Linked DNA regions of Homo sapiens: all the other regions are linked to region 1. Evidence: promoter capture Hi-C in human tissues and cell types (Jung and others, 2019). All regions are on one chromosome and are shown on one strand. The core of a region is centred on a gene start or on the middle of the fragment in contact, and the rest is flanking DNA. Distances in the headings are between cores, read along the strand shown. Region 1 holds the start of TLE2 (TLE family member 2, transcriptional corepressor). Region 2 holds the start of DPP9 (dipeptidyl peptidase 9). Region 3 holds the start of ADAT3 (adenosine deaminase tRNA specific 3).

Region 1 (3,132 bases), core at 286-2,785:
ATGCCTGGCTAATTATTTTTGTATTTTTTGTAGAGATACAAAAAACACAAAAATGTTTTTTTGTATTGTCGCGGTGTTGTCCACACTGGTCTTGAACTCCTGGGCTCAAGCGATCCTCCCTCCTCAGCTTCCCAAAGTGCTGGAGCTACAGGCATGACCCACCACCCCTGGCCCATTGATAAGGGCTCTTGTGCCCTTTTGTAAGGGTACAAAATGGGTTTTTGTAACCCTAACCCTTAGGTACCATTAGGTACTCGATCACCTAAGGACACAAGTCCAAGTGTCATCAAGGGGCATGGATTTTTCTCTGTTTTGTTCCCAGCTGTGCCCCAGTGTCTACAGCAGTGTGTGGTCCACAGTATGCATTTAGTACACGTTTGTTGATTGACTTCACAAACCTCTCCTGAGGTTTCTCCAAAGAGAATAAGAACTTCCCACTCCCCGGGTGGGCCTGAAGGATGCTGGCTGGATGTCTGTGGTCTCTGGTCGGGGCTGGAGCCTTTGCCGTGGGAGAGACTTGAGTCTGATGGCAGAGCTGTGGTTCTTCCAGTTCTGAGTGGGACACGGCTCCTGCCTTCAAGAAACCCAGTCTGAGAGGGGAGACAGCCCAGTCCACTGGTGATGGCAGTAGGAACACAATTCCCATCTGTGGAAGTTTGCTCTGTGTAGGGAGAGGCTGACAGCGTTCATGCACTATCTCATTTAAGTGCAGTGCCCAGTGCGGTGGCTCCCGCCCGTAATCCCAGCACTTTGGAAGGCCGAAGAGAGAGGCTTGAGTCCAGGAGTTCAAGACCAGCCTGGGCAACATAGTGAGACGCCCCCCTACTCCATCTCTGCAAAAAATTAAAAAATTAGCTGGGCGTGGTGGTGCACACCTGTAGTCCCAGCTACTGGAGAAGCTGAGGGGGAAGGATCGCTTGAGCCCAGGAGTTCGAGGCTGCAGTGAGCCATGATTGCCCCACTGTACTCCAGCCTGGGCAACACAGGGAGACCCTATCTCTGCAAAAAATTAAACCCTAAAGATAGCGCACCACCCCTGACCTTTTGCAGAGACTACTGAGGCCCCCAGAGGGCGAGGGCCCGGCATGATCTGGGAAGCAGTGTTTGCTGTGAGATTCCCTTTCTGGCAGGGTTCCCTGCCAGCGCTTGGCAAGGCTGCGTCCTGCTGACCCTTCAATCTCAACCCAATGTCACTTGCTCAGAAAAGCCATTTCCGACTCCAGACTGGTCCCCGCTCCCCGCAAGCCCCCCCCCCCGCTCCCACGGTGGGTAACACGGTGTGAATTTCTTCACTGGTTTTTCTTCTCCCGCCCCTCCGGGAGGGGGTGGGGACCCTGTTTTAAGGCACTGGGCGCCTCCCCACCCGGCCTCAGTTTCCCCAACGGCCCAGGGACTGAAGGAAGGGGGCGGGTGCCCGGGGGCCGGGGGGGGCGCGGGCGCGGGGAGGGGCGGTGCGCGGGGGTGGGCGCGGGGCGGGCCGCGGGCGCGTGGGGGCGGCGGCGCCACCTTAAGGCGGCTCAGCCCGCGGCTCCCGGCCGAGCCCCGCCGGAGGGAGGCGGCTCCGCGCGGGGCCCGCCGCCCGCGCCGCCGCCACCGAAACCCGGCCGCGGCGCGCCCGACCTTCTGCGCCGGCTGCCGCGGCCGCCCTCGCCGCGCTCCCGCCCCGGCCGCTGCCCCTGCCCGCCCCGCTCGCCCCGCGCACCCCAACCCGGGGAGGGGCTCCCACGACCCCGGGCGCGCGCGCTTGGGGGCGCGCCAGGGACTCCAGGGTCCCTTGCCCCGCGCCGCTTCTCCCTCCTCCCTCTTTCTTCGGGCAGCCTCCCCACCACCCCACTTCAGCCTCCCCCACTCTTGCCGCCTCCATATCATCAAGCTCTGGTGGCGCCTGGGGGGCTTTTCGGATCGGCAGGATGTACCCCCAGGGAAGGCACCCGGTGAGTGCGGACTGCGGGGAGGGGGCCCCCAGTGTCCGGGAACTCAGACCCTGACGTTTCCCCCACACCCCCCCCAGACCCCGCTCCAGTCCGGCCAGCCCTTCAAGTTCTCGATCTTGGAGATCTGCGACCGCATCAAAGAAGAATTCCAGTTTCTTCAGGCTCAATACCACAGGTGAGGGGGGCCGCCCCAGGGGCCGCGGGAGTTCACCTGGGCGCCGGGGCGGGGCGAGGCCTCCGGGGTATAGGGCGGGGAGGAGGGGCTCCCGGTTGGAGGGGGGGCGCGACAAAGGCCTCCAGGTGGAAGCGCAGGTGCAGAGGGGTCTGGGGACAGTCAGAGCTGGGGCATTTGGAGCCCAGGAAGGGGCGGGGAGGGACTGGGACAGGAGGTGGGGGGAGGTCTGTAAGGAAGTCGGGAGGGGGAGATCCAGCCTCTCACTTTGGAAGCCGGCCCACATGGGGCGGGTGGGAGCCCCTTGCCCTCTCTCTTCTTCTCAGCCTCAAGCTAGAATGTGAGAAGCTGGCCAGCGAGAAGACGGAAATGCAGCGACATTATGTCATGGTGAGGGCACTTATGATGCCAGGGTGAGGGGAGAGGCGGGCAGGGCTTTGAGTCACGGTGGACTCTGGGGTAGGTCCCTGCCCCACTCCGAACCTCGTCTTCCCCGTCTGTACATTGGGCAGGTTGGGATTTCAGGCTCTCTAGGAGGGTCCTCCCAGCTCTGGGAATGGGGAGACAGGGAGGACCCCTCGCCTGATGGGAGTCTCTGTCGGGCCAGGGCCTCTGGACACTTCCTACCTGCCCTGCCTCTCTGGGGAGAGTAGAGGGGGCCCTTCCAGGCAGAGCCCCCGCTTCCTCCTCTGGGACCCCGTGGAGCTGGGGGGGGCTCTGCTTCCTGCTGTGATTCCCCTGAACCTGGGGACTCTTGGAAGACCCTGGCATCACCTATCTGGAGGAGGGCACCCATCTCCACCCTAGACGTTCTTACTTGGTTTTTCCTTTGCAGTATTATGAGATGTCGTACGGGCTCAACATTGAAATGCATAAGCAGGTAACTGGGTTGGGGTTACGCGTGTTCAGGAGGGAGGGTGGGGGTCTGGAAGCCCTGAGAAGGACCCAGAGTGGGCAGCCGGGGCCAGAGCAGACCTAGGGAACACGGGTCTCATCCTGAAATCTCCGCAGAGGTCACAGAGGGCC
Region 2 (3,132 bases), core at 360-2,859, 1.7 Mb before region 1:
AGGCTGCAGGCGGGCGAATCACGTTGAGGTCAGGAGCTGGAAAGCAGCCTGGGCAACATAGTGCAGGCCCTCTAGTCTCTACAAAAAATACAAAAGTTAGCTGGGAGTGGTTGCACACGCCTGTAGTCCCAGCTATAAGGCACCGTCTCTACAAACGCATTTTTTAAAATTCAGCCAGGCGTGGTGGTCCACACCTGTGGTCCAAGCTACCCAGGAGGCTGAGGTGGGAGGATCGCTTGAGCCCAGGAGGTGGAGGCTGCAGGGAGGGATGATCGTACCACTGCACTCGAGCCTAGGCGACAGAACGAGACTCTCTCTAAAAAATACAAAAAACAAAACACACAAAAAAGTAGTTTGATCTAAAGCAAAATGGTGAATATCTGCAGAAACTAATGTGATATCAAGTATAGATTGATATCTATGAGATGAAAAGCTTCATTTGACCCCGGATGGGTTTGTGGGCCGTTTGACGTGCATTGTTTTAATGGAAGGTGGATTTATGATAAAGTGATAAACATGTGTGTGGGTGGGTGGGTGTGTTGGAAAGGGTGTTTATTGGATTTCTTTTTGTCTTCCTTATTTTCCTTCTTTCGGTCTCTACTGTATCAAATACAATAACAGATATTCAGGAAGAGCGGATATTGCTTTAGCTGACTGTAGCCAGTGTTTCTTTGGTGGGACAACGCAACTATCACTGCAACATTATCTCTATAGGAGAATTTAAAGAACCCTGACGCCTACCGGTTTCCGTAGTGTAGCGGTTATCACATTCGCCTCACACGCGAAAGGTCCCCGGTTCGATCCCGGGCGGAAACAGGTCAGCTGTTTTTCCTAACCGGAGAGTAATACTATTTGAAATTCACCGAAAGAACGATTCTAGTCCCATTCTTTCTCTTCCGCCTTCCTCCTGCCTTTTAGACATTTTTATGGGATTTAAAAAAATTTTCCGTGATTGATGGCTCACGCCTGTAATCCCAGCACTTTGAAAGGCCGAAGAGGGCGGATCACCTGAAGTCAGAGTTCGAGACCAGCCTGGCCAAAATGGTGAACCGCCCCCCCCCCCCCACCCCGCCCCACCCCGCCCCACCCCACCCCATCTCTACTAAAAATACAAAAATTAGATGGGCGTGGTGGCGTGCGCTTGTAATCACAGCTACTTGGGAGGCTGAGGCAGGAGAATCGTTTGAACCTGGGAGGTGGTGGTTGCAGTGAGCGGAGATCACGCCACTGCACTCCAGCCTGGGGGACCGAGCGAGACTCCGTCTCAAAACTAAAATGAAAATTTCAAACTCGCAAAAGTGGTACCGCATGCGTTGGCCGGGAATCGAACCCGGGTCAACTGCTTGGAAGGCAGCTATGCTAACCACTATACCACCAACGCCCTGATAGGTAGCATCCTCTCCGGATATCCTTAATAGTGGGGGATCATGGGTTTGACTGAGTGATACCAAGTCACAGGGGGGTGTCTCTCCCTAACCCACCGGAAGATGTCGTTCATGGGGCGTTACGCACCTTAGGCCGCCGCGCCGCGGGCTCCCCCCCAAGCGCCGCGGACGCCTTGGTACGTGCCTGGTGGTGTCCAATCCCAGGCCGCCGCCTGGGTCGCTCAACTTCCGGGTCAAAGGTGCCTGAGCCGGCGGGTCCCCTGTGTCCGCCGCGGCTGTCGTCCCCCGCTCCCGCCACTTCCGGGGTCGCAGTCCCGGGCATGGAGCCGCGACCGTGAGGCGCCGCTGGACCCGGGACGACCTGCCCAGTCCGGCCGCCGCCCCACGTCCCGGTGAGCAGCGCCCGCGCGCCTCGTCCCGCCCCGGCCGCGACCCTGAACCCGCCATTGACCGGCCCCGCCTCGGCCCTGACCCTGCCCTCGCCATCGCCTGGCCTCCCCGCACCCCGGAGCCTCCATGCACCCGTCTGTGGGTCCCTCCGGCCCCCTGCCTCGTTTCCTCTCCGCCCCAGGCCCTCCTCCACCTTCTTTCCCTCCCCGATTCCTGCGCTGGCCAGGCCACCTCCCAGTTTCTCCCCTTCCCTGATGGGCTTCCCCACCCATCCCGTTGCTGCCCAGGCCACCAGGCTCTGACCCCTTCCGGAGGTGGCCGCACCCAAGAACGTCCTCGTAGCTGCAGACCTTGACACCCTCTCCCCTTTCGTGCAGGCTCTGGAGGTCCCGATCTCCTCCCTCTCCCCATGCAAATGCTGTATATGCACAGAGGCCACCTCCCTCGACCTGCATCCTGTCCTCACTCCTTTACCACTTCCTCCAACCTTCGCCCCGAGGCTTGGTCTCCCCAATCCAGTCCTGATCCTCAACCCTACTTGATCCCTCTATTAAGGGTATCCAGAGACTCTTTTTCCTGCCGAGGCGTTGGTGGTGTAGTGGTTAGCATAGCTGTCTTCCAAGGGTCCAGCCCACAGGGTTCAGCCCCCTTCTCTCAGCCTCCCTTCTCAGGCCTGTCCAACCGCCTACCTTCTTCCCACACAGCCTTAGGCCAGCCCTGACACTTCCCTGTTCACGCTGCCTCTGAGCCATCAAAAGTGGTCTATTCCCTTGGCCCCCACCCCCTGGTCTTCCCCAGGGGCCCCAGGAGGAAGTCACTTGCCTCCCAGGCAAGAACCAACCTGCTTTCGAGGAGCTGGGACTAAAGCCCAGGGGGTGTGGACCGTAGGCACCAATCCCTGCATTCCTCTGCTGGGTCCCAGGGGAATCGGGGCCCGTGGGATGGCTTCTCTCCCAGATTCTGTCCAGGGCATGCAGACAGTGCTGCAGGGCTTCAAGGCAGAGCTAGAATCTAGCCAGGTAGAATCGGGCCTGACAGTCTGCAGCTCCTGAGTGGGGGAGGCTGAACGGCTGGCCGGTGCTTCCATTAACCTGCCACATTCATGACATGTTTATCCTATAAAGGTCTGTGTCCCACGCCTGCAGCTGGAATGGAGGCTCTCTGGACCCTTTAGAAGGTCAGTTGTGCTGGGGTTTGGCAGCCAGGAAGGCTGGGGTGTGGGCTGGTGGGATTCCTTTGCCTGCTCTAGAATATAGACATGGGCAGGAAATGGTTTTCTATGGCCCTGGATGGTTGTCCTCCGCAGGGCAGTGGCTGCAGTTTTTTGTGCGCCTGCTGGAGGCTTTTCTTTCCACCC
Region 3 (3,132 bases), core at 201-2,700, 1.1 Mb after region 1:
GACGGAGTCTCACTCTGTCGCCCAGGCTGGAGTGCAGTGGCACGATCCTGGCTCACTGCAAGCTCTGCCTCCTGAGTTCACACCATTTTCCTGCCTCAGCCTCCTTTGGGAGTAGCCGGGACCACAGGCGTCCACCACCATGCCTGGCTTTTTTTTATTTTTAGTAGAGACAGGGTTTCACCGTGTTAGCCAGGATGGTCTTGATCTCCTGATCTCGTGATCCACCCGCCTTGGCCTCCCAAAGTGCTAGGATTACAGGCGTGAGCCACCACGGCCGGCGCTACACGTATGTATTTTATTTATTTATTTAGAGACAGGGTCTCGCTCTGTTGCCCAGGCTGGAATGCAGTAGTGCCATCACAGTTCACTGCAGCCTCAACCTCCGGGGCTCAAGCAATCCTCCTGCCTCAGCCTCCCAAGTAGCTGGGACCACAGACATGTGTCACCATGCCTGGCTTATTAAAAAAAAATCTTTTTTTCTTTTTTTTGGAGAGTGAGTCTTGCTAGCTTGCTCAGCCTGGAGTACAATGGTGCCATCTTGGCTCACTGCAACCTCCACCTCCCAAGTCCAAGCGATTCTCCTGCCTTGGCCTCCCCAGTAGCTGGTTTTACAGGCGCGTGACACCACGCCCAGCTAATTTTTGTATTTTTGGCAGAGATGGAGTTTCACCATGTTAGACAGGCTGGTCTCGAACTCCGGACCTCAGGTGATCCACTCGCCTTGGCCTCCCAAAGTGCTGGGGTTATAGGGTGAGGAACTGCACCCAGCCGTCCTTGTTTCCACGGAGTCGATCCTCTGTTTCTGGCCACCCTACAAGGAGGCCTTCTCTGCAAGACAGCGGGGAACCTCGGTCCTCGGGGTAGTGTGTGGGAGATAACTGGGGGCCTGTGATACAAAAACCTGAAAAACTCATACTCTAGGTAACGATGAGGAACGATGGTCAATTCTGGGGATGTACCAAGGCCTAGGGGAATCTCCACATAAAGGCGAATCAGAGCTGGGGAGGAAGGACGCGAAGGCTACGGAAACTCGCGAGAGCGCGGTTCAGAGGCAGGGGACTGCGGGACATGACCTGAGGAAGGGCCACCGGAAGCAGCTGGAGGATACGGGGTCTCCCGCACCGACCATAAGGGCGCACACGCGCAGAAAGGCGCTAGGCCCGGGGGAGCGCGGTCCTGAGGCTTCCCCCAGGCCAGCGCCGCGCGCGCGCGCGCACGCGCATTCGCGCCGCCTCCCCGCGTCGCCCACCGGCCCGCCCGAGACGCGCGCGAGGCTGGCCTGGGCCCCCCGTTTTCTCCCCACAAACGGCCGGCGCCCCTCACCGCCGAGACCCCCCATGTCAGCCCCTACTCCCCCTCTGGGGAAGTCTGAGCCTGGAGAACCCGAGACCTCGGGGCCGCGCGCTTACCTGAGGGATCCGGGCGCGAGCGCAGCGCTTCGCCAAGTCTTAGCAACCGGCCCGGCCCAACCCACCTCACCCCGCCTCGTCTCCGCCTGGAGCCGCGGAGCACGACGGGAGCGTAGTTCCAGGGGCGGGATCTTCGCCAGGCCAAGGTGGGGCAAGGACTACAATTGCTAGTAGGCACTGCGCGCCGCCGCCTCGCCCCGCCCCGCTCCGGCACTGCGCTCACATGACCTCCGGGCGGCGGGAGGGGAGGAGAGGCGGGGCCGCTGCGCTGGGCGAGCGCTGAGTTTGCAGGTTCGAATCCCATCAAGCGGCCAGGGAAAACTCGGAACCCGGGGGATCTTTGGAAGGTTAGCAGAGTGGGAAGGATGAGGCAGAGGGGGTATATGACACCCGTCCCCTGAGTCCGGGATGGGGCCAGGTTCCAGTTCTGCCTGTTACTGCACTCCGGCGTGGGCCGCCCTCAGGTTTGAGTTTTCTCACCAGTAACGTAGGTGAAGAAGACCTCTTGCCTCTCCTGGGCCAAACAAGCACATTTTTTTTTTTTTTTTTGAGACGTAGCCTCAGTCTGTCACCCAGGCTGGAGTGCAGTGCTAGGCTCACTGCAACCTCCACCTCCTGGGTTCAAGCGATTTCTGGCTAGTTTTTGTACTTTTAGTAGAGAAGGGGTTTCACCAAAACATGCATATTTTATGAGCAATTTGTTACTCCTTCCAGTTGGACAGGTTTAACCAAGTGGTTCTCAACGGGAGGGAATTTGTCATCCCCTCCCCCAACAGCTTGACAGTGCCTGGCTGTAACCAGCTCAGGCTCCGATGCCAGAGTCTTGACAAACCAGTAAGGAGGAAAAAGTGCAGTGAAAGGAAGGTGACTTCCTTTCAGAGTTCGCAGCAGGGAGGCAGCTGGTTTAGGCCTCCAGAAACCCCTTCAAACTTGAGGCTGGGGTGAGGGGCTAAAAAAGGGGAACTGGGAATGGTGGGTGTGCAGGGGAGGTGCTGATTATAAGCTCTGTGTGTTCATGAATTTTGGTGGCTTAAAAGCGCAGGCTGGCCTCATCCTAATAAGGGCCGGGTTGCAGACCACCTTGAGGAAATCTCTGGGATTTTGCAGGTGGGTCTCCGTGCTTGGCCTGTCTCCAGATTAGCTCTAAAACGTTCTTTCTTTTTTCTTTTTTTTCGAGACAGTCTCGCTCTTGTCACCGAGGCTGGAGTGCAGCAGCACGATCTCAGCTCACCGCAACCTCCACCTCCCAGATTCAAGTGATTCTCCTGCCTCAGCCTCCCGAGTAGCTGGGATTACAGGCACACGCCACCACACCTGGCTAATTTTGTATTTTTAATAGAGATGGGGTTTCTCCATGTTGGTCAGGCTGGTCTCAAACTCCTGACTTCAGGTGATCTGCCCGCCTCGGCCTCCCAAAGTGCTGAGATTACAGGCGTGAGCCACCGTGCCCAGCCTGTTCCTGGAACTTTTAGGTAATCACATAATTAGATGCATACAGTTAGGTAAACCTGCAGAGTGTGAGGGAGTTTATGGTGAGAAAGGGGAGGACGTGTTTCAAAGAAAGTGCATTTCAAGGTCGGATGCGGTGGCTCATGCCTGTACTCCCAGCACTTTGAGAGGCCAAGGTGGGTGGATCACCTGAGGTCAGGGGTTCGAGACCAGCCTGGCCAACATGGCGAAACCCCATCTCCACTAAAAATACAAAAATTAGCCAGGCATGGTG

What was found. The method cuts DNA at HindIII sites, captures the fragments that hold promoters and counts their contacts. A contact is called where the count stands out against the background at its distance.
Region 2: a contact is called between the fragment with the promoter of DPP9 here and the fragment with the promoter of TLE2 in region 1, in 1 of the 25 tissues and cell types used here (spleen).
Region 3: a contact is called between the fragment with the promoter of ADAT3 here and the fragment with the promoter of TLE2 in region 1, in 1 of the 25 tissues and cell types used here (dorsolateral prefrontal cortex).

The regions. Positions count from the first base shown.
Region 1 is chr19:3,027,683-3,030,814 of GRCh38, reverse strand. TLE2 (TLE family member 2, transcriptional corepressor) reads left to right here and starts at 1,535. Exons shown (of 20, transcript NM_003260.5): 1 at 1,535-1,934; 2 at 2,012-2,109; 3 at 2,433-2,496; 4 at 2,942-2,986. The coding sequence starts at 1,911. The HindIII fragment of the contact is 30,131 bases long and covers 1-3,132 here.
Region 2 is chr19:4,722,319-4,725,450 of GRCh38, reverse strand. It overlaps DPP9 (dipeptidyl peptidase 9), which reads left to right and starts at 1,609. Exons shown (of 22, transcript NM_139159.5): 1 at 1,609-1,777; 2 at 2,900-2,952. TRG-TCC1-1 (tRNA-Gly (anticodon TCC) 1-1) reads right to left here and starts at 1,381; the gene lies at 1,310-1,381. It overlaps TRV-CAC3-1 (tRNA-Val (anticodon CAC) 3-1), which reads left to right and starts at 744; the gene lies at 744-816. LOC105372250 (a long non-coding RNA gene) reads right to left here and starts at 2,571. Exons shown (of 3, transcript XR_936274.2): 1 at 2,465-2,571; 2 at 742-831; 3 at 1-316. RefSeq lists silencers at 689-888, 1,339-1,428, 1,659-1,808. The HindIII fragment of the contact is 28,361 bases long and covers 1-3,132 here.
Region 3 is chr19:1,903,717-1,906,848 of GRCh38, reverse strand. It overlaps ADAT3 (adenosine deaminase tRNA specific 3), which reads right to left and starts at 1,450. Exons shown (of 2, transcript NM_138422.4): 1 at 1,410-1,450. It overlaps SCAMP4 (secretory carrier membrane protein 4), which reads right to left and starts at 1,450. Exons shown (of 7, transcript NM_079834.4): 1 at 1,410-1,450. RefSeq lists enhancers at 947-1,036, 2,057-2,116, 2,397-2,456 and silencers at 1,197-1,346, 1,397-1,726. The HindIII fragment of the contact is 31,876 bases long and covers 1-3,132 here.